Linked DNA regions of Homo sapiens: all the other regions are linked to region 1. Evidence: promoter capture Hi-C in 16 types of primary human blood cells and fetal thymus (Javierre and others, 2016). All regions are on one chromosome and are shown on one strand. Each heading gives the region's core, a stretch centred on a gene start or on the middle of the fragment in contact. The rest is flanking DNA. Distances are from core to core; before and after follow the strand shown.

Region 1 (6,983 bases), core at 4,288-6,787:
ATAATTGTAATCACAATGGATGATAGTTGCCTTGTCTCAATGTTTCATTAGGAGGTGTGAATAGTGACTTTCTAATTCTACCATTTTGTTGCATTTATGACCCTTACGAATGATTTGGGTACCCTCGAATAGACAGAAGAATAAATGCTTGATTTTTTTCCTTTATATATCAATTCTCAAAATAAACATTTGTTTTCTTAAGTGATCCAAAGATGAATGATTAGTGATTTTTTTTAGTATCATTATGAACTCATGGATTTGTATATATTTGTTTTAATTCATTACAGTCATTACTCCTCTACAAGACCAGTGCTGTAATCCGTGAGCTATAGGGCCTTGGGTTGTTTTTGTTTTTGTTTTTGTTTTCACATCACCTCAGCAGTATTTAATAGCTACCTTGCTTTCAGGCATAACAAAATGCCACAGGCCCACCTTGTGTAATTCCTGCCCTAGTTCTGAAATCAATCATTTCCTAAAGCCTCACTGGTTCCTTTTAGTGGGAAATGGCATTTAAACTACAAATTTGGACATCCAGGTGCTCACAGCCATTAGACTGTCATTCTTCTTGGCCTTTCAGTGGACACAACTGGGATATATATATGTATATGTGTGTGTATATATATGTATGTATATGTGTATATATACATATATAAATTCATACCAACATTGCCAATTCTAATTTCAGATTACAGATTTGTTTACTCAAATATGTGACTCAATCAGATTACAGAATTTATAGCTAACTTAATTGATTTGATACTAGTATCTCTTTTATCTTTCATTGAAAATCTGGGTTTCTAATAATATTGTTACTTGTTATCTTATATACATATATAAGTTATACAAAATACATGTAATAACACCTAAACAGGCCAGGCGCGGTGGGTCGAGCACTTTGGGAGGCCGAGGCAGGTGGATCACCTGAGGTAAGGAGTTCGAGACCAGCCTGGCCAACGTGGTGAAACCCCGTCTCTACTAAAAATACAAAATTAGCTGGGCAAGGTGGCACATGCCTGTAATCCCAGCTACTTGGGAGGCTGAGGCAGGAGAATCACTTGAGCCCAGGAGGCAGAGGTCGCACTGAGCCGAGATCGCACCACTGCACTCCAGCTTGGGCGAAAGAGGGAGACTCTGTCTCAAAAAACAAATAAACAAACCCAAAAGAAACACACCTAAACAATATTAATATTACCAACAGTATACCATTATTAAATGCAGTTGATTTTTTTCTGATTTTAGGCTTTGTCACACTAAGGATATAGAGTCAAATTAATGAGTTTTACAGTTAATTTGTGTGGTTATGCCAGTGACTCAATGTACTCTTTATTTCTTTTCTTTTAGGAAATGCTTTGTTATTTTCTTTTAAAAAAATAGTTATGTAGGCTCTTGAGCTGCTTGCTTTGGCCCACTCTTGCCCTGAGGAGTATACTTTCATTTTCAATACGTCTCTGCTTTTGTTGCTTCAAAAAAAAATAAAAATTATGTGGCCGGGTGCGGTGGCTCATGCCTGTAATCCCAGCAATTTGGGAGGCCGAGGCAGGTGGATCACGTGAGGTCATGAGCTGCAGACCAGCCTGGCCAACATGGTAAAACCCCATCTCTACCAAAAATACAAAAATCAGGCGTGTGTGGTGGCAGGCGCCTGTAATCCCAGCTACTTGGGAGGCTAAGGCAGGAGAATCACTTGAACCCGGGGTGGCAGAGGCTGCAGTGAGCCGAGATCGCACAACTGCACTCCAGCCTGGACTGGAGTGAGGCTCTATCTCAACAACAACAAAAAAATTTACATGAATCCAAAGTTGAAGCTATTAAACACAGTGTATACAGAGAAATCTAGCTTCCATTCCTATTTCCTTCACCCCGTTCTTTTCTTACCTATAACCATTTTTCTTAGTTTATAATTTACACTCTATTGCATCTTTAACATGTAAGCAAATGCACACATCATTATTTCTATTTTCCCATCTTTCTTACAAGAAAGGCAGCATTTCAACACGTGTGAAAAGGGGGAAAAATAAAAATAAAGGCAACATACACATGGTCTCTGTCCTGCTTTTTTCACTTAACAATACATCCTAGATTTCCAAGGCAGTCCACAGAGATGGTTCTCTTTCCTCTGTGCAGCGGCATAAAACTGCATTGTGTGGATATACATAGTTTATTCAGCCAGTCCTCTGTGGATGGATGTGTGGGTTCAACAAACATTTATTGCATGACCAAATTGTGCCAGGCACTGGGAATAAAGACGTGGTCTCTGGCTTCAGGAAACTCAGAAGTGCAGATGGGGAGATCTCCACAATACAAGTGCTTTCCTTATAAGAAGTAATAGCTTGGGTCCACTTAGCACAAGGGGCACATGGAACAGGGAAGAGACGCTTGCACACAGGAGGGACACAATAACTGTCTATTTATTGGCATCTTGCTTCCACTTGGGCCTGCAAACAGGAGAGTCCCCTCGGGAGGAGATGGTTACCAGTGGTTGAAATTGCTTAAAAAATCATGAGTGCCACCAATTGGTCAGAGAAGGGAAAGCTGAATGAAAGAGGCCGAGAGGGAGGGTCCTAACCACAAAATTACCCTGGAAAGAGGAAATGTAACAACACAGGAGCTGTGGTTTAACATGAGCCAACACCTATGTAGAACTTTCTGCTGACCAGATATTGTTCTAAGCAGTTTACATATAATTCCTTTCTCACAACACTCCTAAGTGGTACGAATTATTACTACCTGCATTTTTCCGATAAAGAAATTAAGGTGGCTGGGCGAGGTGGCTCACGCCTGTAATCACAGCACTTTGGGAAGCCAAGGCAGGTGGATAACTTGAGGTCAAGATTTAGAGACCAGCCTGGCCAACATGGTGAAACTCCGTGTCTGGTAAAAATACAAAATTAGCTGGGCGTGGTGGGTGCCTGTAATCCCAGTTACTCGAGAGGCTGAGGCATGAGAATCGCTTGAACCTGGGAGGCAGAGGTTGCTATAAGCCAAGATCACACCACTGCACTCCAGCCTGGGCGACAGGGAGACAAGAAAGAAAAGAAAGAAGGAAGAAGGAAGAAGGAAGAAGGAAGGAAGGAAGGAAGGAAGGAAGGAAGGAAGGAAGGAAGGAAGGAAGGAAGGAAGGAAAAATAAAAGAAAAAGAAAAAAAAAATTAAGGCACCAGCGAGGTGGGTGGTTCACACCTGTAATCTAAGCGCTTTAGGAGGCCAAGGAGGGAGGATCGCGAGGCCAGGAGCTCGAGATTAGCCTGGGTAATACAGCGAGACCCCATTTCTACAAAAAAATTAGAAAATATTAGTAGGGTGTGGTAGGGCGCGCCTGTGGTCCCAGTTACTGGGAGACTGAGGCGGGAGGATCGCTTGAACCCAGGAGTTTGAAGCTGCAGTGAGATACGATGACGCCACTGCACTCCTGCCTGGGCCACGGAGCAAGACCCTGTCTCTAAAAAAATATTTTTTAATTAAATAAAAAATAAAAAGAAATGAAGGCACAGAGAGGCTACCGAACTTTTGCCCAAGGTCAGACAGCAAAATGGAAAGAAGGGCAGGCGAGTAGGCAGCAAGACACCGCAGATGGGACAGTTGCAAGTAGTGCACCAAGAAGCTGGTGCGCTCCCCAAGGTGGGACGAAAATACTGTATGTCCCTCTACCCCATAACCACCTCCTCGCGAGGACAAAGGACACCTGACACGTCACCCCTCCCTCGCCCCTGCGCGCACACACGCCCCTCACCCTACCCCAGGTCAGAAGACCCCGAAGGGCTTTCTCTGGACTCCTGGAACCCTGGAGGCGCAATTGACGCCTTAGAGGCTGAATAAGAGTCCCTCTCCGAGCAGCTGGCGACACGTCTCTCTCGCGCCACCCCTCCCAGGGTCCGAAGCTCCCGCCTGTGCAGTGGCACAAATGAAGTTTGCCTCCTCGGGCTCCTGCGAAACCGTGGAAGCTATGAGAGTCACAAGGTCCTAAATGGAAGCAGCTCCTCGGGAACTGAAGGCCAATCGGACGCAATTCTACCCTCCAGGAAAGCGCAGGAAGAGGGAACAAGCAATGCCGACGCGGCGTGGGGGACCCAACACAGGGCGGTCGCACAGGCGCGACCCTTCTCGCGCCTTCTCAAAACCCAAGCAAACACCACTGGTTCCTACACCCGCCGAGCCCGAGTCTGCAGCCTCCAGCTCCCCTGGCCCGTTCCGGGCGCCGCCTGCGACCCATGCCCAAGACAGCGCTCTGCTGTCCCTGCGCACCCGGCGCCGACACTGGCGGGGCGGGCCCAAGCCGGATCCGCCAACCCGACGACCCACCTCCCTCAGGGCTGCCCCAGACGCCAGCTGGGGGCTTCTACCTTGACGCTAGAATTTGAATTTTCAAACGCTTGTGGCTACAGGCTTTAAAACGCTAGCTCCAGAAACCAGCTAAAGTATTGCATTGAACAGAAAACCAAATACCGCATGCTCTCATTCATAAGTGGGAGCTAAACATTAGGAACACGTGGACATAAAAGTGGCAACAACAGACACTGTGGTCTACTAGAGGGGGCAATGAAAACGGGCTAAGCTGCACTCCAAATCCCAGCATCCCACAACATATCCAGGTAACAAACCTGCGCAGGTATCTCCCAAACCTAAAAAATTAAAGCCATTAAAAAGCTCTGCATTGGCCAGGCGCGGTGGCTCACGCCTGTAATCCCAGCCCTTTGGGAGGCCGAGGCGGGCGCATCACGAGGTCAAGAGATCGAGACCATCCTTGCCAATATTTATACAAAAATTAGCTGGGCGTGGTGGCGCGCGCCTATAGTCCCAGCTACTCGGGAGGCTGAGGTAGGACAATCTCTCGAAAACCGGAGGTGGGGGTTGCAGTGAGCCGAGATCGCAACACTGCAACTCCAGCCTGGCGACAACGCGAGACTCCGACTCACAAAAGAACAAACACAAAAACACATTACACAGTTGGACAACGGAAAAGCACCCGTGCGTGTAGCATACAGCCAGAAAAAAGGGCACCCGAAAACGGTAAACACAAAGCCATGAAACTAGGCCACCTGTTATCATAAGTAACAAGCCCACAAATACAAGTGTTAAATCGATCCTTGAAGTTCAGGTCAGACGGGTAATGTGCCCACGTCGTAACAAGGTTCAAGGGTGGCACATCTCACACAAGCGTATGAACACCCAATCATCACGCTCATGAACTACAAAAGGATCATCTTATAGTTGACATTAAGGAGTGCCAAGTATGTGCCACTAATTTACACATAGGGTGACTACCGTAATGCGATACATCCATTCTTCACGTATAAAATCCTGGATATTTTCAAAGTCCCACTGAGATTCTGTGATTATTCTTTTGTTTCTACCTTAGCAAAGGAAAACAGAAACACAATTAGCGAGCGGATTATTATATATGCAAATTTATTCTCTATAGTTCCACCTCTCCGTCATTTTCCCGAGCCTGGATCTTTATTGCTTTACGACCATACGTCGTGAAATAAGAAGGTGTTGCGGCAGTACTGGCGGAAGCTAGCCTTGCGTTTTGCGGCAGCAATATGAGCTAGGTCCGGATCCTGTTAGACACCGGCGGGCGCGAGCCGTTGCAGGTACCTGGGGGTGGTTAAGTTGGTGACATGGCTCAGAAGTTTATTTCTTTAAATTTTTAAGTTTTTTTTCTTTTTAGTCTTCAGAAAGGCAACAGTAGTCTTTTAACGTCACTGTTAAAAGTGTAAGACTCTTTTACTCCCTGAGAGTCCCCTTTCCCTTTCTTGCGTCCTTTCCTCTTTATTCTTTTTTTTTTTTTTTTTTTTACTGAGACGGAGTCTCACTCTGTCGCCCAGGCTGGAGTGCAGTGGCGCGATCTCGGCTCACTGCAAACTCCGCCTCCCGGGTTCACCCTTTCTCTTTATTCTTATCCCGGTCAGACTCGCCCCCTCCTCCAAGACATCTCTCTGTTTTATTTTATTTGATTTTAGTTCTCTTTGGGTGATCGCTCCTTCCCTCTTCAACGGATCCCTCCCCGCCTCCATCCTCGTTCTGTGGGAGAGACCAGCCTTCTGGTGCTGCAGTCAGGAATGGAGCTTGACAGCGCTCTGGAAGCCCCATCGCAGGAAGACTCTAATTTGTCCGAGGAGTTGTCTCACTCCGCCTTTGGACAGGCCTTCTCCAAGATTTTACACTGTCTTGCCCGCCCGGAGGCACGACGAGGCAATGTAAAAGATGCAGTTCTTAAAGACCTCGGTGATCTAATAGAAGCCACAGAATTTGATAGGTTATTTGAGGGGACTGGTGCACGGCTCCGCGGAATGCCGGAGACACTGGGGCAGGTAGCAAAAGCCCTGGAGAAGTATGCAGCCCCCTCCAAGGAGGAGGAAGGTGGAGGTGATGGGCACTCCGAAGCGGCCGAGAAAGCAGCCCAAGTTGGGTTACTGTTTCTTAAACTGTTAGGGAAAGTTGAGACTGCTAAGAATTCCCTGGTCGGCCCTGCATGGCAGACGGGCCTGCATCACTTGGCAGGACCCGTTTATATTTTTGCCATCACACACAGCTTGGAGCAACCATGGACCACTCCGAGATCTCGGGAAGTTGCTAGGGAGGTGCTCACCTCACTGCTTCAAGTTACTGAATGCGGTTCTGTGGCAGGATTCCTACATGGAGAAAATGAAGATGAGAAAGGGAGACTTTCGGTGATACTAGGGCTTCTCAAACCCGACTTGTATAAGTGAGTACTCCTGCCCTTTGCCACCGACTTGAGCCTCACAGTTTTTTATTTTTATTTTTTATTATTTATTTATTTTCGAGACAGAGTTTCACTCTTGTTGCCCAGGGTGGAGTGCAATGTTGCGATCTCAGCTCACTGCAACCTCCGCCTCCTGGGTTCAAGCGATTCTCCTGTGTCAGCCTTCGGAGTAGCTGGGATTACAGTTGCCCGTCACCACGCCTGGCTGATTTTTTGTATTTTTAGTAGAGACGGGGTTTCACCATGTTGGCCAGGCTGGT
Region 2 (7,615 bases), core at 3,956-6,455, 890 kb after region 1:
CAGTAACTTGCTTGCACCTATGAATGGCTATAATATACGAGCCCCAACTCTTGCACCAAGTCACTCTAGTATCCTAAAAATCTGTAAGTAACTCTCCAGCCAACCAAAAAGATGAGGTAATATGAGTAGGGCAATTTTCTTTTTGAATTATTATTTTATTGCTATATGATGCATGATAATTTGTTTGTCATTCTCCACAGTGGGCAGAGCCACCAACCCATGAAAAATGCCATGTTTATAGAAATCTGAAAACACAATTTGCATTCAATTAAAAGTAGCTCTCCAACAGTGGCAGGAGAGGTTCACATGTTATGACCAATAAACATCTGAAATTGAAATGGCATTTTTCCAGCTAAGAATCATTTAGCTAAGCTCCCAGAAGTTTTTTTCTACCATAAAAGCAGGTAAGTCAGTTACAACTGAGGGTAGAATGTAAGAGCCATGGGTCTAAATTCCACCAATGGACCACCCAGATCTGGTCCAATCTAATCAATACATATTAGTGTGCTATTCCCAAGTGAAACCATTCTATCTCATTATGACAGAAATGTCTCTGCAAAGACATTCTTTTCCTTCAGCTAGCTTTTTTAGGTGCCAAATTAAAAACTGAATTGTTCATTTCATTCAGAGATTTCATAGAAGACTTCCTGGATTAGTTCCTGTAAAATGAAGCCTTAGCTGAGAATATATAATATTTTGAAAAGACATAGTGATTTCCTGGCAAAGAACTGTCAGCATCATCACTTAGGCTAAAATCATAAACTCGTTTCCTTCTCCAACAATAAGGGCATTTTCCAACGTTGTTGAAGTAAGATGTAGAGACTCTCTGACTTTTATTCTCTTTTTAGAGCCATGTCACTTTTCCACACACTAGCTCTCTTCCATACATGAAGGGACCATCTTAAAGCAAAGTTGTGCTAAATGATATACATGCATTTTCTCACATTAGACTTCCCAATATATGTTTAAAATAAATAGCATTCTTCAGACCTAGAAACTGAATCTCGGGGCCAGGCATGGTGGCTTATGCCTGCAATTCCAACGCTTTGGTAGGCTGAGATGGGTGAATCACTTGAGCCCAGGAGTTCAATAGCAGTGTGGGGAACATGGCGAAACCCTGTCTCTAAAAAACATTACTCAGGTGTGGTGGCACACGCATGTAGTCCCAGCTACTAGGGAGGCTGAGGAAGGAAGATGGCTTGAGCCCAGGAGGTCAAGGCTGCAGTGAGCCATGAGTGCACTACTGCACTCCAGCCTGGGTGACAGAGAGAAACCCTGTCAAAAGAAGAAAAGAAAAGAACAGAACAGAAAAGAAGAGGAGAGGAGAGGAGAGATGAAACTGAGTCTCAGGGAAGTCACATAATTTGTTTAAAATTATACGGTAATTAGCAGCACCAGAATTTATTTCTTTTATTATTTTTGAGACAGGGTCTCTGTTGCCCAGGCTGGAGTGTAGTAGTGAGATCATGACTTACTGAAACCTCAATCTCCTGGGCTCAAATGATCAATTTGCTCAAGCAATCCTCCCACTATGGCCTCCCAAAGTGCTAGGATTACAAGCATGAGCCACCGCGATTGTCCTCAGCATTAGTATTTAGACTTAAGAGCATGAGTCCACTCAGCATTTGTGCTCTTCCCATTTCATTCACCTGCCATGCTTTGACGTGTAACATGAAGATCACTTGGGTACAACTGGCCCCAGACAAGTCATTTACTTGAATCCACCACATATACTCCCAATAAACTTGGTGCCAAAGGCTACCTTTCAATCCACTCACAGAATCCCATTTCTTTCAATAGTAAGGGCTTTTTCTTTGAGGCAGCAAAACGTTATGTGACATAGCAGTCCACTGCATTATCTGGGGTTAAATGCTGCTGTGTGACTTTGGACAACATGTATCAGTTTCAACGTACAGTGTAATAAGTTTTCATGATAACCATGAGTCATCATCCATGTAAAACATCTAGCACAACACCTGGCACACAGTAAGCCTTCAATAAATGCTTGCTGTTATTCATATTTGAAACAGATATTACCACTTCAACTGTTTTCCCGGGATTTATCTTGATTTTCTTTCCTATTACTATTTGTTAGATTTTCCGTTTTGTTTTCCTCATTTATGTATTAAATTGGAATGGATGGTGCTTAATTCAGCAAAGTGGTTGGTATAACAATTTTTTATGGTATTCAACAGAATTGTCTGCAAAATGGGGCTACCAGCAGCTGGCATCTCCAGAAGAAGTCATTAAGGCTTGTTCCAAACAATCACTTTACTTCTGCTGATTCTATAAAAGGAGCAGCAAGATAGTCCTATTGACTGTTTTGTAAGGTTCAAGTTCTTCTCCTAAAACTTGTCACTTACATGTAATAGAAAACTCATTTAGGCAATTATTTATAAGTTTTTAGTCACAGATGCCTCATTTACAAAAAACAAAAGAAAATAAAGAAAATTATAATTTTGATCTTTATTAGATTAGTATAAAGAACTTAAAAATATAATTAACAACTCTAAACTAGTGAATGAACAATGGAAGTTTCCAATTTCCAAAAATTGAGTAGTAAAAATTGTCTTACAAAGGGAAGGACTAAGAACTTTGATATTTCACTAATATTTACAAGTGGTAGGAAAAATAAACAGAAAGGGGGCAAAACCGATAATGTGTTTGTAAATGAAAAAATCCCTTAAAAACCTCCAGTCAAGAATGATTTCTTTATTGTTACAGTGACCTATAAAATATATTTCTGATTACTATTTAAAAACATGAGAAAAATGCTTATAATATATTAAGTAGGTAGAAGGGTAGGTGAGTGACTTCTATTTTCTTCTTTTTGTTTTTTTCTTTTTCTTTCTTTCTTTTTTTGTTTGTTTTTATTTTAAGAGAGACAAGTTCTCGCTCTGTTGCCCAGGCTGGAGTGCAGTGGTTCAACCATAACTTAGGACAGCCTCAAACTCCCGGGCTCAGGTGATCCTCCCACCTCAGCCTCCCAAGTAGCTGAGACTTCAGGGCTGCCACCAAGCCTGGCTAATTTCTTTATTTTTTTATAGAGATGAGGTCTCAATGTGTTGCCCAGACTAGTCTCGAACTCCTGGTGTCAAGCTATCCTCCCTCTTTGGCCTCTCAAAGTGCTAGGATTACAGGCATGAGCCACCATGCCTGCTCTTTTTTTTTTTTTTTTTTTCTTCTAATCCAACATGAGTTAAAGAGGAAAAAAGGGAACTTTGGGGGCTGTGAAGTCAGATCCATCTCCTCTGCCTATATCTGTTTGCTCTGAAAGCCTCCCCTGTCTTACACTGACCCCCAAATCGCAGAGAACTGTTTAATACATAAAATGTTTGCTGAATCCATACTACTTCAGAGAGGCTTTTCAACATTTACTTTAGAAAACACCAATGTCATTAGTTCAAAGAATGTAGCCGGTACAGGCACAATCACATTAGAAAAGCAGAGTTCGCTTTTCAAATACAGGGATTTACTAGCATCTCCTTGCTGGCTAAAATAAAGTGAAAAGAAATCTATTCTTTGAAGCTGATTATTTTTGACCAGGCAAACTTTTCTGAGGCCTTTGACTTTTTTATATATTTGGCATTTTTGAGTTTGGCTTATTGTTATTGCTGACTCTTCAAGGTTCACCTTCAGCCTTTACTAAATGGAGATATTTGTACCTCACAGTCGTTCCCTGCAATGCAAGTCCTGCGTGTGGCTGCCTTGAAATGGACTGTGTGCTTCATGCTATTTTCATTATTGTAACTAAGACTGGACCTGGTTCCTGCCACGACTGGTTTATATTTTCAAACTGAAGAGCATATTTTCATGAGATTAAAAAATGTAATAAACCTGCCAATGTACCCGCTGAATCTAAAATTTTAAAAAACACACTAGGATTAGTAAAACATGCATATTGTAATTATAAAAAAACAAGTAAAACAATAGTTAATATGAAGAAGTATAATGAAAAAGCCAAAGAAGAAAATCAAATGGAACACCAAAAGTTAAAAACCAAAAACAAAAGCAGCCTTGGTTTTACCTATGGCTTTTCTCTTTCTCTAACACCTCACAATGAATTGGTTAGGGAATCTTGCTGGCTTGACTTTCAAACTATTACAGACTGACTTTTTTGCCACCTCTACTGCTACCAGCCTGGGCCAGGCCACTATGCTCTCAGCAAAAGCCACCTAACTGGGATCCTGGATTCTACCCTTCCTCCCAGTGAGCCATTCTTCACACAGGAGCCAGAGTGATTCCATTAAATACCAATGTCCTGACAATGGCCTACAAGGCACTACATGCTCAGACCCCAGGGTCTGTGGCCCTCATCTTCTATATTTCATCCCTTTGTTCCTTCTACTCCAACCCCACAGGGCTCCTTATGGTCCCCTACACGGCACATGAGCCATGCTTTTGTCTAAGGGCCTTTGTACAGCCTGTTCTTTGCCTAAATACAGTTTCCCCAGATGTTTTTTTGTTTGTTTGTTTGATTGTTTTTCTTGAAACAGAGTCTCCCTCTGTCACCCAGGCTGGAGTGCAGTGGCACAATCACAGCTCACTGCAGCCTCAACCTCCTGAGTTCAAGTGATCCTCCCACCTCAGCCTCCCAAGAAGGTGGGACTACAAGTGCATGCCACCAAGTCCAGCTAAGTTTTCAATTTTCTGTAGAGCTGAGGTCTGACTAATGTTACCCAGACTGGCCTCAAACTCTTGGGCTCAAGCAATCTTCCCGCCTTGGCCTCCCAAAATGCTAGGATTATAGGCATGAGCGACCATGCCCAGCCAGTTTCCCTAGATGTTTGCAAAGTTAACCCTTCACTTCTTTCCACTTTTTGTCCAAATATCAACAATTTAATGAGACTTACCTTGATCAACCTAATAAAAATCACAAGTTTCAACTCTCCTTATCCCCTCCCCTCCTCTACTGTTTCTCATTTTTGGACTACGTAGCACCTTCTAATATATCGTGTTACTAGTTTATTATATTCATTGTTTATATTCTCCTAATAAAATTAAGTTCCACAAAAAAATGTGTTCATGAATCAATTCAACCATATTTACTGAGAACTTACCATGACCCCGGGTGACTGATGTGTGAAAATGGCACATTGAAATATTTTAATATCATGGTACACAAAGCTTCCTTTCTTAGTTTTAAACCATTGCCAAATATCAAAAACTAATTCTACTGAGAATTAGGGAATGGAGTCAGATTTCATAATTATTTCTCTCTCAGTGATAATGCAATGAATAGAAACATAAACTGAGAGATTTATTTCAGTTCCCCAAAGCTTGGGAAAACCAAAAGTATTTTTTTACATTCTCAAACTGCTCAGATATGCTTAAGGATAGTATCTATGGTCCCATTGATGATAGCATGAAGGGTTCCAATTACAAGAGTTTCAATAACTTTATTCAATGAATCACACAGGAGAGAAATTATTTCCAGACAAAATGCCAAAAAAGAAAAACCTAGTATTTGCTTCTGCAGAATAAACACTTAAAAAAAAAAAGCTCAATGTGATTCCTGGATGCTAGCTACATAAAATCCATATAATTATACTAATCTTTTTATAAGTAGAATTAAAAAACAAATAGCACAAATTCCCCGGCAGAAATTATCATTTTGGAGGATATGATGAGAGCCCTTGGAACACATAGGAAACTAATTTGGCCCTTTCTAGCATTTCATTTCCTGTTTGATCTCACCAGGCTATTGCCATCAATCCAGTTAAATGACGCTTTATGTAGTTAAAATATAGCCAAAACACCATACTTCACACAATAAAAGATAATTTTATACCATATAGTTACAGTTCTAGTATCACCAACCTGGAGGGAAAGGCTGTAACATCAAACAGGATTTATTTAAACAGATTGACAAAACAACTTAAATTGCCAAAAGGACAGACTTTCTTTTCATGAGTTTTCCTACCCTGCTGATAGCAAAAGGAAATTGTTCCTTCAACACACTCCCCAGATCGAAATAGAATAACTAGGAACATCTATTTATTGAAGAGCTTATCAAATTGAGAAATGCTTTAAATAAGGAGCTAACATAAGGAAGAGAAAGACTGTAGTTATAAGTTTAATTTTCAAGGTTTGATAAACTCCCCTGTTGAGTATCAAAATTTAATACGATGATATTCTCAATTTATAAGTATCAAAAACTCTTTATACTAGTCCTTGCTAATATTTTAAGTTCCCCCGACATAGCACAAAACCCCAATCAATCTAACAGTTATAGAAGTCCACAAGCACAAAGCCCATTTCACATTAAATAGACGAAAACTAATCTGAGATCTTGCCTAGGGGCTTGCTTTCAAACATTTTCATAATCAGTTACTTGCTATCAAATTTGAATTAAGGGCATCTATATATAGTTTTCTTACTCCATCACAGCTAACTTTATATGAGAATGAAGAAGTTTTGGAACGGAAGCTCCAAACAGCTGGGTATCATGCCTCAGGCAGTTGCTGAAGGCATCCAGAGAAGCTGAAAAGACACACAATGTGCTCTACTGCTTGCCAGGAATTAGGCCTCAGAACTTGTGCAATTATTTTTCAATATTCAAAGCCACCAGATTACCCTAAAACTGATACATTTGTGGTGTATTTTAATATTCTTATGTATATTGGGAGGACAGGATGTCTAGTTGTCCTTAAGCATATTAGGAGGCCATTTCTACTCCAAACAGCAAATACCACCTATTGCCAAACTCAATACTCTGACCCTTAATAGGGGCAGAAGATAGACGTGAACATGACCTTCCAAAGCAGATAGTGCCTTGGGTTAAAAACCAGTGAATAGAATATTTAAGTATACTTACATGAAGAAGTATTTGCTCCTTCTGTGGATACTGATATTCTAATGGGAGACTCTATAAAACATAAAAGTGGAATGAGGCTTTATTGAGTCATGCTGCTTGGACTCATAAATTAGAAATTTGCCAGGCTTGGGTATCGCCTAGTAAAAGAGTAGTAGAACACCGTGCAACAGAGAAGCTGAAGCATTTATAAGTCAGAATGCAATACTCAAAGACCACAAAGGAATATTACCATAGTCTAGACCCAAAGACTTTTAAAAGGGATGAAAATGGAGTCAATCCATCTGTAAGAATATCCCACACACCAAGCATTATCTGAACTTCCAAGAGAGACTACTCTGAGGAGATACACACCACAGGTGAGAAAGAAAATTCCTTCTTTCAGATGTGGTCTTGATTTTGAGAAAACATGAAACCAAAGAGAATAGCCCCTGGATTCCAAGAGAGTGAAAGCCAATTTTCATGCATGCCAAATAAATAAACAAACAAGATTGAGAGTATTTCCAGGCAACTTGGATCTGCATAAACATCCGGACCAGAAAGTGCTGAAAAGTCCATGCAAAGTCTGCTAGAGCAATAGAATAATTACATTAGGATCAAACAAACCATGCTAATTAAATAAATCATACAATAGTTGGGGATATCTAGTAGCAAGATTTTCTCAGGTAGCAAAGATAAAAGAAGAAAAAACAGTCATTAAGTACAGAGAGAATGAAAAATATGACTCATGCCGAAAAAAGCATGGAACGGATGGGTTTTCATTAGTAAGAAATAAAGAAGTCTTAGTATCAAAGAAGGATT
Region 3 (6,970 bases), core at 3,756-6,255, 910 kb after region 1:
TTTTCTATGCTTTCAGAGTTCTCAAACTGCCTCTCCCCACCTTATACATATGTTAAAATACAACTTCCGTTACATTGATCTGACCTCATGATTTTACCTAGAGTAAAAGTAAGATGCATCACATTTAAGTTGTACCATGGATTTCATCTCAATTTTATCACCTAAATCAGTAGTTTAAAGGAATTCTTCTGTAGTTTTTCTTTTTACTCCCTTACCATCACCAATAACTGTGTTATACTTTAGATTTTTAAACCCAATTGGTAAATTTTCTTACTTTTCTATATCCAAATGCCATCAGCCACTAGGGTTTAGGAAGAGAAAAATGTATAAAATCATTTCCTACAAGTCTGTTAAGGACACTTACTGAAGGTTAGAATAGATTTTAAAAATACTGTGCACTCTTCTTCTCAGTAGAGTAACATCAAGAATAATGTTAATTTTGAATTAAGAGGATTTATCAATTCCAAAAGGAAGGGAATTTTTCTTTCCTTAAGATTCTCATTGCTGGGAGCATAGTACCACATGAAAGGTTCTTAATACTGGAATAAATATTTGGGCAACATTATCACATAGTTTTATAAAACTCTGAATATTACATCAACATTCACTTTTTTTTTTTAACATGGGCAGCATTGTGATTTGCTGTGTCTGTGTTTTACTGTTGCACATAACCTATAATTTAAGCAGTCTCCAAGATATAAGAACTCAGAACAGCAGGGATTGGCTCAGAGTTTACTGAATTCTTTCTAAAGAATTATTCTAAAGCCTGGTGTGGTGGCATGCCCCTGGAATCCCAGCTACTTGGGAGGCTGACATGAGAGAATCACTTGGGCCCAAGAATTCAAGGCTGTAGTGTGCCATGATCATGCTGGTGAAGAGTCACTGCACTCCAGTCTGGGCAGCAGGGTGAGACCCCTATCTCCAAAAAATAATAGCAATCCTTCTATGCTCTAGCCTGGTAACTGTGATTTATTGGGCTCTTAAGGGGATAACGACAAGGGAGAAAACAAAGGAGGAAGAAACAACAGTAATCCTTCTGGTTGCAAATCTCCCACGTTATACTTTGCTAGTTTTCTGGTGAATTTTCTGGTCTTCTTGTCACACATTAATGTTAACTGAGAAAAATCAATTGTTCCAAATATAATTCCTACTAGTATCCTCCAGTCTATCCGATTGAACCACCCAAAGTTCCACATGTAGACCCCCTGATCTTCCACCTCTGTGCTTTTGTCTGTGTCATTTTTTCTTCCTACAATGGGGGTCCTGCATTCCTATGCATCAAAATCTCAGCTGACCTTCCAGGGCCATGTCAGGTGCCAACTGCTTCACCAAGCCCCTCCTGGTCATGTAGCTGGAGCTGCTCTCACGTGTCTAAATTCTGACAGCCCTGAGTACGCCTCTCATGAGAGTTCCTTCAGTATGTCTCATCTCTTGACCTAGGACATATACTTTGGAGAGTGTAGCTATAATGTCAACTTCTTGCTAGTCTCGTGGAGCATACATCAGGCTATGCTTTCTCTTCAGACATTATTGAATAAATGTGTGAATGAATGAATAAAATATCTGGATGTTTGCTTAAGTACTCAGCAGAACCTAATATTTCTAAGGCTGGTTGGGAGGAAAGAAAAATGCCATAATGAGAGGGCAAAGACCATCAGAGGTGGTCCAGACCAGGGGCAGTGGTGGTCAAACCAACATAGGGGTTGAAAAGTTAACTTCACGGCTGGGAGCAGTGGCTCACGCCTGTAATCCCAGCACTTTGGGAGGCCGAGGAAGACAGATCACGAGGTCAGGAGTTCAAGACAAGCCTGGCCAAAATAGTGAAACCCTGTCGCTACTAAAAATACAAAAATTAGCCAGGTGTGTGGCATGAGCCTGTAGTCTCAGCTGCTCAGGAGACTAAGGCGGGAGAATCATTTGAATCCGGGAGGCAGAGGTTGCAGTGAGCCGAGACCACACCATTGCACTCCAGCCTGGGTGACAGAGTGAGACTTGGTCAAAGAAAAAGAAAAAGAAAAGTTAACTGCGCTAGTCGGGACTCGATGTCAACAGGTAAACATGAGGTAACAAAGCAATGTGTTCCACATTCAAATAAATTTGGAAAATATTAGGTGAAATAAAGACAGGCTTTTCATTATCTTTAATCTCACAGGATTTCTCAGCATCTTGAATATGCTGTTGTACTCTGACTCCCCGAAAAGGGATATATTATTTATTTTCTCTCAAACTCCTTTGACCATGGAATCCTTTTCATTCACAAGGCATATCTGTTAATGTTTTCTGAAAATAATGGTCCACGGAACAAAGTTGACAAAAAGTGGATGTAATTTAACAGCCTTATCTATCTAGGAATGGGGAGACCACCAAGGGCCATTTAAAGAATATTCACACATCAACCAGAGACATTATTCATAGGAAAGCTTCCCTGAAGTATATCCCTATAAGCCAAAATGGGCCTTTTGATGACAAGTATCTTTGCAAATAGATATGTCTTAACAATAAAATATGACAACTTTTAAAATTATCGAAATAAAACAATATTAGAATATCACCCAATGCAGGCTGTATTAATTTTGGGGCTGAATTTTGGAGCGTTCAAATACCGTATGATTTTTTAAATGGATTATCAGCTATATATCTACTTTGATCATATATGACAAGTTTCCTTCATGACAGGTACCTTTGAAAAATAGTGAGGAAAAAAATGGATAAGCACTGTAAGATTTTCCAGCCCAACATTTAGCATGGTTTGCTGGAAGAATTTTCATGTATAACCATGAAACCACTAGCAATAATAGATAAATTATGAACAATATCAGGGTGGGGCATAGTATCTTGATTTTCAATGCCACAGAAGGAGTAAATTTCTAAAGTAAGAAAACTGTAGCTTTTCTTAAGTCCCCAAATTCTGAGATAAGATTACAACAACATCCCAAGAATTTACAACTCCAAGATTATTACAACACCCTCAAGAACAACCTTTCTTTCCTATTTATACAAATCTAGGAACAATCGTGTTTGTATGTAAAGACCCCTTTCTTGACCCAATGCAATTAACATTTTAACTATTGAACTAGATGGAACTATAAGAAAACATGGTAATCATATTTACAGTTAACATAATCTTAAAGGGATAAGTCTTAAAATCAAACTTCTCCTAATAGGCCTTGGCACTGTTTCCTGGAATACTATTCCTAGTAATGCAATCAAATGTTAGGCTTTAAAAGAAAGAGAGATTTAAAAAAAATGGTTCTATGCTAAAATAAATGTTGCATTAAAAAAAGTTAAATAGGTCTCTTTACAACAATGCATCTCAGTGAATTTTTGCAAATCTGTACTGTGAATTTCTAAGGCAGCCATGACATGTGGCCATGGAATCTTTTCTATGGAGAACACCCTTGGGAATCCTAAGACAGAACATCAATGGGCCAAGACTAAGATTCAATTTGATCGAGATAAGCATCACAAGTACATTCACGTACGAAAACTGGTGACATAAATACAAGAGGAGATATCCCTTGACTACAATATATGCAGAAATAAGGATTTCTAATTAGCCACATGCTTATTATTAACCCATTTTTAAAACTATTTTTAAGAAGAAAGAATAACAAAAAAAACCTTATGTACTCTTTAGCCAAATTAATATTAAAGCAGAGCATCAATCAACTTGGATAAAAGCCCCAATACATTCCTCATCGGCTAGATCATATCTAGAATGCTGAATTATACTTTGGATATACTTTGGAATGATATTTGATGATAAAAAAACATAATTAAAGGACTTTAGAAGAGGGTGATCAGAATTGAATAGGGCCTAGAAATCTTATCACTAGAGAGGATTATGTTAAAGAAACAGAGGTCCCACTGGCAGACAACTATGAATGAAATATGAGTAGCTATTTAAATATATTTCCAGGATGCATATGGAAAAGGAAATTATTTGGGATTGCTAAGTCTTACAGGAAAACTAAGTCTTACAGGAAAAAGGAAACATGTTTTGAATGATATTACATAGAAGCACTTTTCTGAGCATTCAAAAATGTATAGGGTGTCTTGTGAAAGAGTTAGGTTTTCTCTTTGGAAAGATTCAAGTCTGGATAGCCACCTGCCAAGCACATTCCTACAAGAATATCTCTGTGCAGAGAAAGATTAAATTAGATCAGTGGTTTCAACTATTTTTTACAACAAAATCCTGTTTTAAAATGAAAGCTTAAATCAGAACCTCATATTCAAAAATATCACACAGAAAGTGTTCCAGGTCAGAGTGACTGGTAATCCTTTTTGCAATTCAATAGAAATTTAGGACTCTACAGAGACATCATTGGAAAACCACTGACCTCAAGGAGCATAAACATCCCTCTGAATTCTAATGATACATTTAACTATGGGATTCATCCAGCCTTGTGTCCTAGAGTAAGGACAGAATGTAGTAAGAGTGTAGAATGAGCCAAATCTTCCTTGAAAATTATATATTGCAAAAAGATTTGGGGCTTTGATAAGTATGGATACAACAGTCTTCTTTTTTTCTTTTCTGTAAGATACCATACTCTGTCTATAAGAAGGAAATTAGCTTGGAAAGACTACTTGATTCCCTTATAGTCATAAATTTAACTTTTTGCTCTTTAATTGATGAGTTTTCTAGGGATCTGGAGGAAGGTTGGTGTTTCAATGGATTTTTATTTTCTAAAAATATTAAATGAGTTAATTCGTGTAAAGTGTTTAAAATAATTTTTTCAATATAGTAACTTCCCAATAAGTGTTAGCTATTATTATAGTAATTACATTCTATATTCCTGAAATATTTGGATTTTCATAATAAGCATGCATTACTTTTAGAATAAGAAAAAACAGTACAGTGTAAAAATAAATTAATGTGAAGTGATTTGAAGATAAAAAGTTCTGAATATTAATTTCCTTTTCATTTTTTTAATATCAGAAAGCACACTGTGTTTTTTACTGTGTGCTCACTTACAAGGTGAATTCAAGGTTCCATTAGCTATTATTTAGTTTAGTTTTATTTTAACTCGATTATTCTACCATAGTTACAGGCTAAGGCAACTTAAACACATATAGGGAAGAACTCTTCTGTTTATACAGTTTTGGTTCCCTGACCCCTAAGGAATTATATAGACAGTGTTTGTGTGTGTGTGTGTGTGTGTGTGTGTGTCCAACACTGCTTCAGATAGTGTAAAACTGATCATCGTGAAAAGGACAAAGAAGTGAAAGAGGAAATTATGATTTTTTTTTAAGTATAGAGACGGGGTCTTGCTATGTTTCCCAGGCTGGTCTTGAACTCCTGCGCTCAAGAGATCCTCAGTAGCAGGGACTGCAGGTACACACCACTGTGCTTGGCTAAAAGAGAGGCTTCTTAAGCAACAGAACCAGTCACTGTACCAAGTGCCTCACATAAACCATATGGAATGCCACTGAGGATTCTCATTTTCTACATAAGAACATTGAGATTTCATTATATATAAAGTTCAAGTGATCTGCCAGAGTTGCTCAGCTAATATGAGAAAAGAAATGCACATAAACTTTTTCCATTATAAAGTCAAAAAAAGCAACCAGTAAAAATAGAGGAAATAATTGTAATATTTGTCCAATGTAACCAATGACAGCCAATTTTAAACAAAATTAAAATATGTAAGAGCTGAGGCAAAATTAATGGTGTCCAAAAGTGTGTGAAACATACAAATAATAGGAAGCCAGTCTTTAATAAAGCTAAGATAGAACAGGTATTTAAATGAGGTCAATCTGCCAGTCCTTACATATGAATCTGTCACACGCCAAGCTTTTTAACCAGTTTTCTTGATCAAAATCATCCACCAATCAAAGAAAACAAGAACAAAGACATAAGCAGACATATAACATGAGGGTAGTTTCCATTTCTTTTCATTGGCCCCACACATGGGTTAGCCAAATAAACAAAGGCTCAATGGGAATTCAAAAATCATACAAAGAACACGTAGGAATGTAGTTTTTAGTAGGACCGTGGGCAAAACAAGGGTAAGATTTTACAAAATAATAGAAATTGCATATTGCTGTGAAATTGTGCCACTAAACACCAAGAGATTAAAAGGATATGTTGGCTGCTATGCATAATCTGATTATAAGAAGTGTGAAAAAGAAGCCAAGACTAAGGATTGGGAAAGAGTCAAAGTATTTAATTAAAGAGAATCCCAGAAAAATCTTACACCTCAAACTAAACTTCACCTCTGCTTGGTTGATCATAGCCTAAGAAAAAGTTTAAGTCAAGTAACCAACTAACAACTGCAAAACACTAATAGTCTGAATATCTTAGTAATTAAAAATCATTAATAGTAATATATAAATGCATCTGAAAAATAAGAATCTTTTAATTAAAGACATTATCCTAAGCATGCCAGAGCCCTATGTTCTGACTTCTAACTTTATGTAGCATAATCACAAATGTCTGTTGAAAAAACACAAGACTTAGAGTCAGACCTATTTCAAATCTAAGTTTAACAATTCATTACCACTATGATCTACAGGAAGAAACTCAGCTTCCTTCATTTTCAGGATATTAATGTTTTAAATGGGTATAACAATAATTATATTCCTTCTACTTATATTTACTGGATAAATTGAAATAATAGAACACCTTGCAAATGTTAATTAAATTGAGATTCAGTTGGAACCTTTAATCTTAAAAAAGCTGACAATGCTCTTCTTTATAAAAAGACACAATTTTAGAAATGACAAAATACCCAATTCTAAAAACTGATAAGATGATCGCTTCTCAAGTAGCTGTCCACTCTATACAAAGTATGTCTTATTTTTAGATCAAATATGTTAACTGCTTTGCTGCGAGTGATTTATGGTTGCATCACTTCAATACATTTTTCCCCATTTAATTCTTTCCAGCAAGACTATTGTTTAAAAGAAGTAATTTCTAACTATTGCCCTTTCTGGTATAATGGGATTTTATTAATATGTAGACAGTGCT
Region 4 (6,865 bases), core at 1,798-4,297, 930 kb after region 1:
CAAGTGATCCTCCTGCCTTAGCCTCTCACATAGCTGGGACCACAGGCACAGGCACACACCACCACGCTGGGCTTTTTGTTTTGTTGTATACAGAGATTCATGTTGCCCAGGCTGGTCTCAAACACTTCAAGCAATCCTCTTCAAGGAATCCTCTTGCTCTAGCCTCCCAAAGTGCTGGGATTATAAGTGTCAGCCACCATACCTCCTATGCCCTCAAGTCAAAGTTGCTCTTCTCCATTGATTGACCATGGTCTACAAGATGCTGGTTTGCTCCCTTAACTGTTAATGTGCCTTGTTGTCACTACATATCCGCAAAATTACTATTTGGTCAAATCTCCTTTCATCTGCAACAGTTCTGGTGTGTATTTCATGTAAGGTACCTAATGATTGTTTCCATTTACAGGTGAGGAGATGGAAACTGATAGGGGAACTTAATGTCGTAAGTCTAACAAGTTGCAGAACCAAAACTTAAACCTAGGACTTTTTACCATACCTAGTTTTTCTACAAAGTTTGAAGTGGAGGCAGAAAATGGAGAGAAGGACAGTAGATTAAAAATCTGGGAAAGATCACTCCATTTCATAGCCACTACAGTAAATTTTTTGTTCTTATAATGAGCTATGTAAACCAAATCACCTCTCCACATTTGTCTGTGAGAAATTTACAATACTGTAAAATTCTACAAGGGAAAATGAATGCAGGTTTATTAGGTGAGATAATTTTTCACCCTGATAATTGAAATTAGTTATTTATTGAAATTAGCAATCTCTCTTTTCTATACAGTTCCTTGCCCTGTACTTCACAGTTAGGGACTAAAGATAAAAATCTTAAAACAACTATAATGTATTTCCAAAGCCTATGAGATGAAGTTAAATAAAGTCCTTTTTATTTACAGTATATTTATATATAGTATATATAGTAGAATGTAATGTATACATATACACATTATATATATATATATATATATATATAGTACTTTCAACAATAAACACCTTTGAATAATAATAGCTGATACTTGAGTACCTACTATGTGCCAGGCATTGTTCTAAGAGCTTTATGCTCATTAACGTTTTTAAGTTTTATGATAACTCCAGGAGATATGTATTACTGCCATTATCACCAACTTACAGATGAAGAAACAGAAACAGAGAGGTAAAGTAACCTGTCTATAGTCACACGGCTGGTATACTATCAAGTCAGTATCTGAACCCAGGAAGTTTGACTCCAGAGCCCTGGCTCTTAACTACCAGACAATGTGCTAAAGATTTTATTTAATGATCTATCAATAGGGTCCATATTTTCCTCACAAAACCTGGGATACACCACATGACATTATTTCTGCACTTATTCCACGTGCAAAAGACAGTCTGAGAAATACAGTAGATATGCAAAATTGCTGAATTTTCTGAGCTACTTGGATAATTGATGGGGAAATAAAACAAGGCAATACTTGCGATTGGTGTTAAAATAATTCTTTTGAACTATGCAGCTGTCTATCTGTCATATGCCAAATGCCACAAGGGTGAACAGTGCTGTATCTCACTCCTGTGTTCACTGCGATGTGATAACCCCCACGTGAGGATACAGCAACAAAAGTGGCTTAATGGATTAATGTTGTTCTTTCGAGGTGTAAAGGCAATACACCGTGACAATGAATGCTGGAGCAAATCACTGCGCCGCGGCCAGCAGCTGGAAGGTAAGTGTTCAGCAGGCCTGCCTAATTGATTCTGTCACCACAGCTGCCCCTAATTATAAGAACATCTCACTCTCGGACATAAAGATGTCCAGCAAGCTTCACTGAAAGCAATCAACTCACAGGGTTAAAATGGATCCAGTACAGTTTTACCTAATTGATGTGTAGCAAAGTTCACATGACATAAGCTTATAAATATGATTTTTTCCATTGTCATAAAACAGGATTTTTTTCTTATGCATTATACATACCAGCCATATTCACTTCCAAAATGTTAAACAGAAAAACTGAGAAACATCTAGTTACTAAAAATTAAAAATATATTTACTTATTTTCTTATTGTCAAGTTTTTTTCTGTTCTGATGTGTTTATTGCTTAGGTAAAGTTAGCACATTAACATGATTTTGATATGTTAATATTTGTCTTTATAACCATTTCTTCTTTGCTCAAGTTGAATTACATTTAATTCATGCCACTAAAATTCTCTTTTTTATTTAAAGAAATTTACTTACATGTTCTAAACTAAATAAATTCCCAGGTAAGATGAGTTAGCAATTGATTATAATTAGTTTTAAACAATGATAACTATGTGAAAACTTTTAAGCAGTGCATATAAATGAACAAAGTCCCTGATTCATGATCTAAGAACATTAGTTCCCTATAATCTATTTTTCACATAGCCATTTAAAGCTTATTCCTTCTGTGAAAAAGAAAAATTTTAGCAGAGCTAATTCTGAAACAAATGTGTCCTTTCAGGACTTCTAAAATCTGTTTCTTTGTTATTTAGTCAGATCTCCTTTCTTAGTAATTATGGCTTTCTGATTTTTTCATTTTTGTCCACAGATGACTTATTAAAGAGAATGATACTAAAACCTTAGTACCTGCCAGGATTGAAAGCCTTCTTTACTCGTTGAGGCCTACAATATCAAAGTTAAATTTCTCTCTTCTCTGTTCACTACAGTTTTAAGTAAGCAACGCTGCATCCCTTCTTCAGCAGGGTCCACATTTGACTTTCTAAGGACCTTTAAAACCTCCTTGCACTCTTAAGCAGGTCCATGGACAACCTAACGATTGAATTCTTATCATTTTACTTCTACCCCACAGGAAGATCAGGGAAGGCAAATTCCTTATCTTAGGGTTCCCAGTGACATGAATTTGCTGAAGAGGTGGAAAATAACCAAAATCAAATTAAACAGATTGTTGACAGTAAGAAACCTGGTGCTACATTATTCTGTGACTACATTCTGTGGCCACTATAACTACAAGGCTGCTGCACTTTCCCGTACTGTCCTCCAAAGTCAAACCGTATGATGGAAGTCAGTGCCCTTTGGTCTCATAAAACACACAAAAAGAAATCCCAATAAGAAAGAGTCCAAATAGTCTCCCCTATTTTACAAAAAGCATAAATTCCTTAAAGAATCTTTTGAAAGTGAAAGTGAGCTGCTTCCCACACATTCTGACACAACCCACTGACTCCCAGAATGTAATACAATTTTCTCAGCACAAAGACTCAAACATGTTACACGAAAGAAGTCAAAATGAAGCTCACTTAGCATGTCAACATATCGTTTTCCTTACCCTACTATTAGCTACACTGGAGACCTTACTTGGATTGCACCAACTTGTGTACAGCTTTTTTCGTGCTGAACAATGAGATCATGTATGAAAGTACTTTGTAAACAGTAGGCTAAATAGTGGTAGTCTAAGAAATGCCTTCTGGGTGAGCCCAGGGTAGGGCATTGATGGTGAAATTTGCATTATCTGAAGGGAGCTTTAAACAATTTAACCATGAGCTCTCTAGATTTTAATTTCCTTTAATAACATGATCAGTACCAACCATGAATTTAATTAATTCCCCATGAATCCCTAAAGACACTGGCACTCTACTAGAAGTATCTTTTGTTTTGTTTGTTTTTACTTAGAAAGAAGGTTAATTAGATTCTTTGTTAATAGTTTATAAGTCCATGAATTTAAATTACTGAACTCTACACATAACATCTTGAGCTTTTGCCACAAGCTTGATAGACCCTATCAAAAAGAATGGAGACAGGAAACTTAGGTAAAGTACTTGTTTGGTCTGCAGGATGAAGCAGTCACAAAATTACTCTGAATCTCAATCATCTTGAGCAGAAAAAGGAGGGGAAATAGCACCTGCCACACCTATTTCAATACAGTTGTAAAAACCTAATTAAAAAGAGCAATAAAAGCATTTTGCATATTTTAAAAATTAATATTATTAACTCTGATTTAACCACCACCATCTATAAATATCTAAGAAAAAGCCAGAAAATGTTAGGTTATATAAATCTAGATGGCACGAAATTACATGACAAATATCTGAAAAACTACATATACTTTTGGTCATTCTTGAGAGACAAAAAGAAAAAAAAAGTAGCTGGAAACTATCAAGAAAAGTTACCGAAATGCTCAAAGGAAAGGGCAGCCAATATAAAGGAATACACTAAACATTATAGAATCATACAGACTGACACCAGGAAGGCCAGGAAGAAAGTAACTGTTCTTTAAAGTCATGAAATCTTAGAAAGAGCAAAAGCATTTTTTGAGAATTTGCAGAATACTGCAGTTCTCAGAAAACCTTGAAGCATGAAATACATAGTCTTTGAATAAAAAAGGAAGTGAAGTTTTGCACAATACAAAATATAATTTGGAAAATGCTTATTCAGCGGGGCTATACAGGAAAATGACTCAGGAGACAACACAAAGGAGAAAACTTGGGCTTTGAAGTCAGGTTGGCTCAGGTTCTGATTCCAGTTTTCCCACCTAAAGTCTCATGGCTTGGCCAAGTCCATCTATTACCTAGGTGAACTTCATCCTCATCTGCAAGGTAAGTTTACCTTCCACAGGATGGAGTGAGAGAATCAAAGAACTGTATCCCATACTTTGAATAGGATACTGTCACACACACAATAAGCATCAATAACCGCTCATTTTATTTTAATAGCAAACTCATAAGGAATTAATTAAATTCATGGGTGGAACTGATCATGTTATTAAAGGAAACTAAAATATAGAGAGCTCAGGCTGGGCGCCGTGTCTCACGCCTGTAATCCCAGCCCTTTGGGAGGCTGAGGTAGGCAGATCACTTGAGCCCAGGAGTTTGAGACCAGCCTGGGCAACATGGTAAAACATCATCTTTACAAAAAATACAAAAATTACCCAGGTGTGGTGGCATGTGCCTATGGTCCCAGCTACTCCGGAGGCTGAGATGGGCAGAGCACTTGAGCCCAGGAGGTTTAGGCTTCAGTGAACTGAAACCATGCCACTGCACTCCAGTCTGGGTGACAGAGCAAGACCCTGTCTCAAAAATAAATAAAACAAAACAAAATAAAATAAAATAAAATAAAATAGAGTTCATGGTTAGATTATTTAAAGCTCCCTTCAGAGAATGCAACTTTCACCCTCAGTGACCTACCCTGGGCTCACCAGATGGCACTTCTTAGACTACCACTATTTAGCCTACTGTTTACAAAGCACTTTCATACACAATTTCCCTTTAGCACAAAAGGCTGTAAGATGGTTCAATCCAAGTAAGGTCTGCAGTTTAGCTAATAGTATTGTACCAATGTTAATTTCTTAGTTTTGATCAATATAGCAAAGCTATGTATTATTAAACGAGCTGAATAAAGGGTATAGGAGAACTCTCTGTCCTATATTTGCAATCCCTCCATAAATCAAAAATTATTTCTTCTAAAACTCAAGATGACTAAACTCAATTTATGTCTTTCGAATAAGTGTCTCTTTTGAATAATAAGTTAAGTATCCCTCTTCCATGTTTCTATAAAACCATTATTATTCCATTTAATATAAGGTATTTTATCTTTACACATGTTTGTTTCACTTAGGAGACAGAGGCTCCTGGAAGTTAGGGGCTTTATTCTTTTAATGCATCTTTTATCCTAATAACTAGCACAGTGCTCAATAATGTTGACTGAATGGAAGAACGAATGAGCAAAGTCAATCTGTGATTCAAACACTCCATATCAAGTGAGCTACTAGTTTAATGCACAGGATTTATGTAAAAACATATTGAATTTATCAGGGTTATCACTACCTTTATTACTCTATCATATTAGCCCATGATATGGTCTGTTCCTAGCCAAACACATTAGAACGCTCTATATTCTTCTTCTGGCATGCAGCTAGTATCTAGATCCTGCCTTATTCATGTAGATAACTGGCTTTATTCCCTTAGGAATTTGTCAGTACCCATTGATTCAACAAATATCATTGTGCATCAGTTACATTGCTCTCACTGTTTTAAGTACTGGACATATAGAATTGAGTATGAAAACCAAGATCCTTGTTCTCCTGGAGTTGACATTCTGGTTAGGGGGCAAGAGATAGAGACTTTATTAACCAATTAAATTTCTTTCACAAGCAATTTATTTGTAAAATAAATCCTTCCTCTTTACAATCTGAGAGCACAAAAAATTGTTAAAGTAGCTATATCCTTTCCACTTAAATTCCACATAACTCCTTTTCTATTTAAATTGAGGCTTTGAGAACTGATCACTAAATCAGTATATAACCAACTAATATTAATCAGTTGAACACTGCTCAATGGGTACTATGTCATTTAGAAAGTGTTTATTCCTAATAACAACTTATTTTCCTTACTAAAACACTTATTTATTAAAAATTACTAAGATATTATATTCTCAGTACTGCATTACACTATGTTACAATTTTACCACTTCAGAGCTACATATAAACAGTGCAATATGCTGATTAAAAGCCTGGGTCAGACAAACCCAATTTCAAGTCTTAGTCTCCCATATGCTAGTTGTTTGACCTTGGACAAATTATTTAAATTCTCTAAGCCTCATTTTACATTTTCTAAAATGTAAATGAAATAGAACCTATCTCATAGGGCTACTAAAATGATTAGATAAGATATTGCAATTAAAGCACATAGCAGTCAGTGTGTGTCACATTGCAAGCACTCAACAAATGTTGGTAGCTATTCTTCTTATATTATCACTTAGGTTCTCAGAAAATTTTAGCATTTTATGAAGCTCTCTAAATTAATACAAAGTTTTTAAATAACTGCCCACTTAGAGTTGAGACAAGTGGAAACAAATTCATTCCTGTAGCAGGCAGAATAATGGCTCCCAAAGATCCTAAATCCTGATCCCCAGAACCTGTGAATATGT

What was found. Contacts are between HindIII fragments. The CHiCAGO score rates a contact against its expected background, and 5 or more counts as called.
Region 2: a contact is called between a fragment that was not itself captured here and the fragment with the promoter of TTI2 in region 1, in 1 of 17 cell types (M0 macrophages). The highest score is 5.2, in M0 macrophages.
Region 3: a contact is called between a fragment that was not itself captured here and the fragment with the promoter of TTI2 in region 1, in 1 of 17 cell types (M0 macrophages). The highest score is 5.2, in M0 macrophages.
Region 4: a fragment that was not itself captured here is called in contact with the fragment with the promoter of TTI2 in region 1 in 4 of 17 cell types (monocytes, M0 macrophages, M1 macrophages and 1 more); the score reaches 8.8 in monocytes.

What each region holds. Positions count from the first base shown.
Region 1 is chr8:33,511,689-33,518,671 of GRCh38, reverse strand. It overlaps TTI2 (TELO2 interacting protein 2), which reads left to right and starts at 5,537. Exons shown (of 8, transcript NM_001102401.4): 1 at 5,537-5,590; 2 at 5,960-6,705. The coding sequence starts at 6,059. It overlaps SNORD13 (small nucleolar RNA, C/D box 13), which reads right to left and starts at 5,197; the gene lies at 5,094-5,197. RefSeq lists enhancers at 3,556-3,845, 5,366-5,505 and a silencer at 4,886-4,935. The HindIII fragment of the contact is 19,476 bases long and covers 1-6,983 here.
Region 2 is chr8:32,616,088-32,623,702 of GRCh38, reverse strand. It overlaps NRG1 (neuregulin 1), which reads right to left. Exons shown (of 12, transcript NM_013964.5): 5 at 6,818-6,868. Among named protein-coding and RNA genes, the nearest start is that of NRG1, 72 kb to the right of the region's middle. The HindIII fragment of the contact is 152 bases long and covers 5,130-5,281 here.
Region 3 is chr8:32,598,526-32,605,495 of GRCh38, reverse strand. All of the region lies in intron 2 of NRG1 (neuregulin 1), which reads right to left. Among named protein-coding and RNA genes, the nearest start is that of NRG1, 54 kb to the right of the region's middle. The HindIII fragment of the contact is 1,582 bases long and covers 4,215-5,796 here.
Region 4 is chr8:32,580,264-32,587,128 of GRCh38, reverse strand. The region is part of intron 1 of NRG1 (neuregulin 1); the gene reads right to left. Among named protein-coding and RNA genes, the nearest start is that of NRG1, 35 kb to the right of the region's middle. The HindIII fragment of the contact is 1,327 bases long and covers 2,384-3,710 here.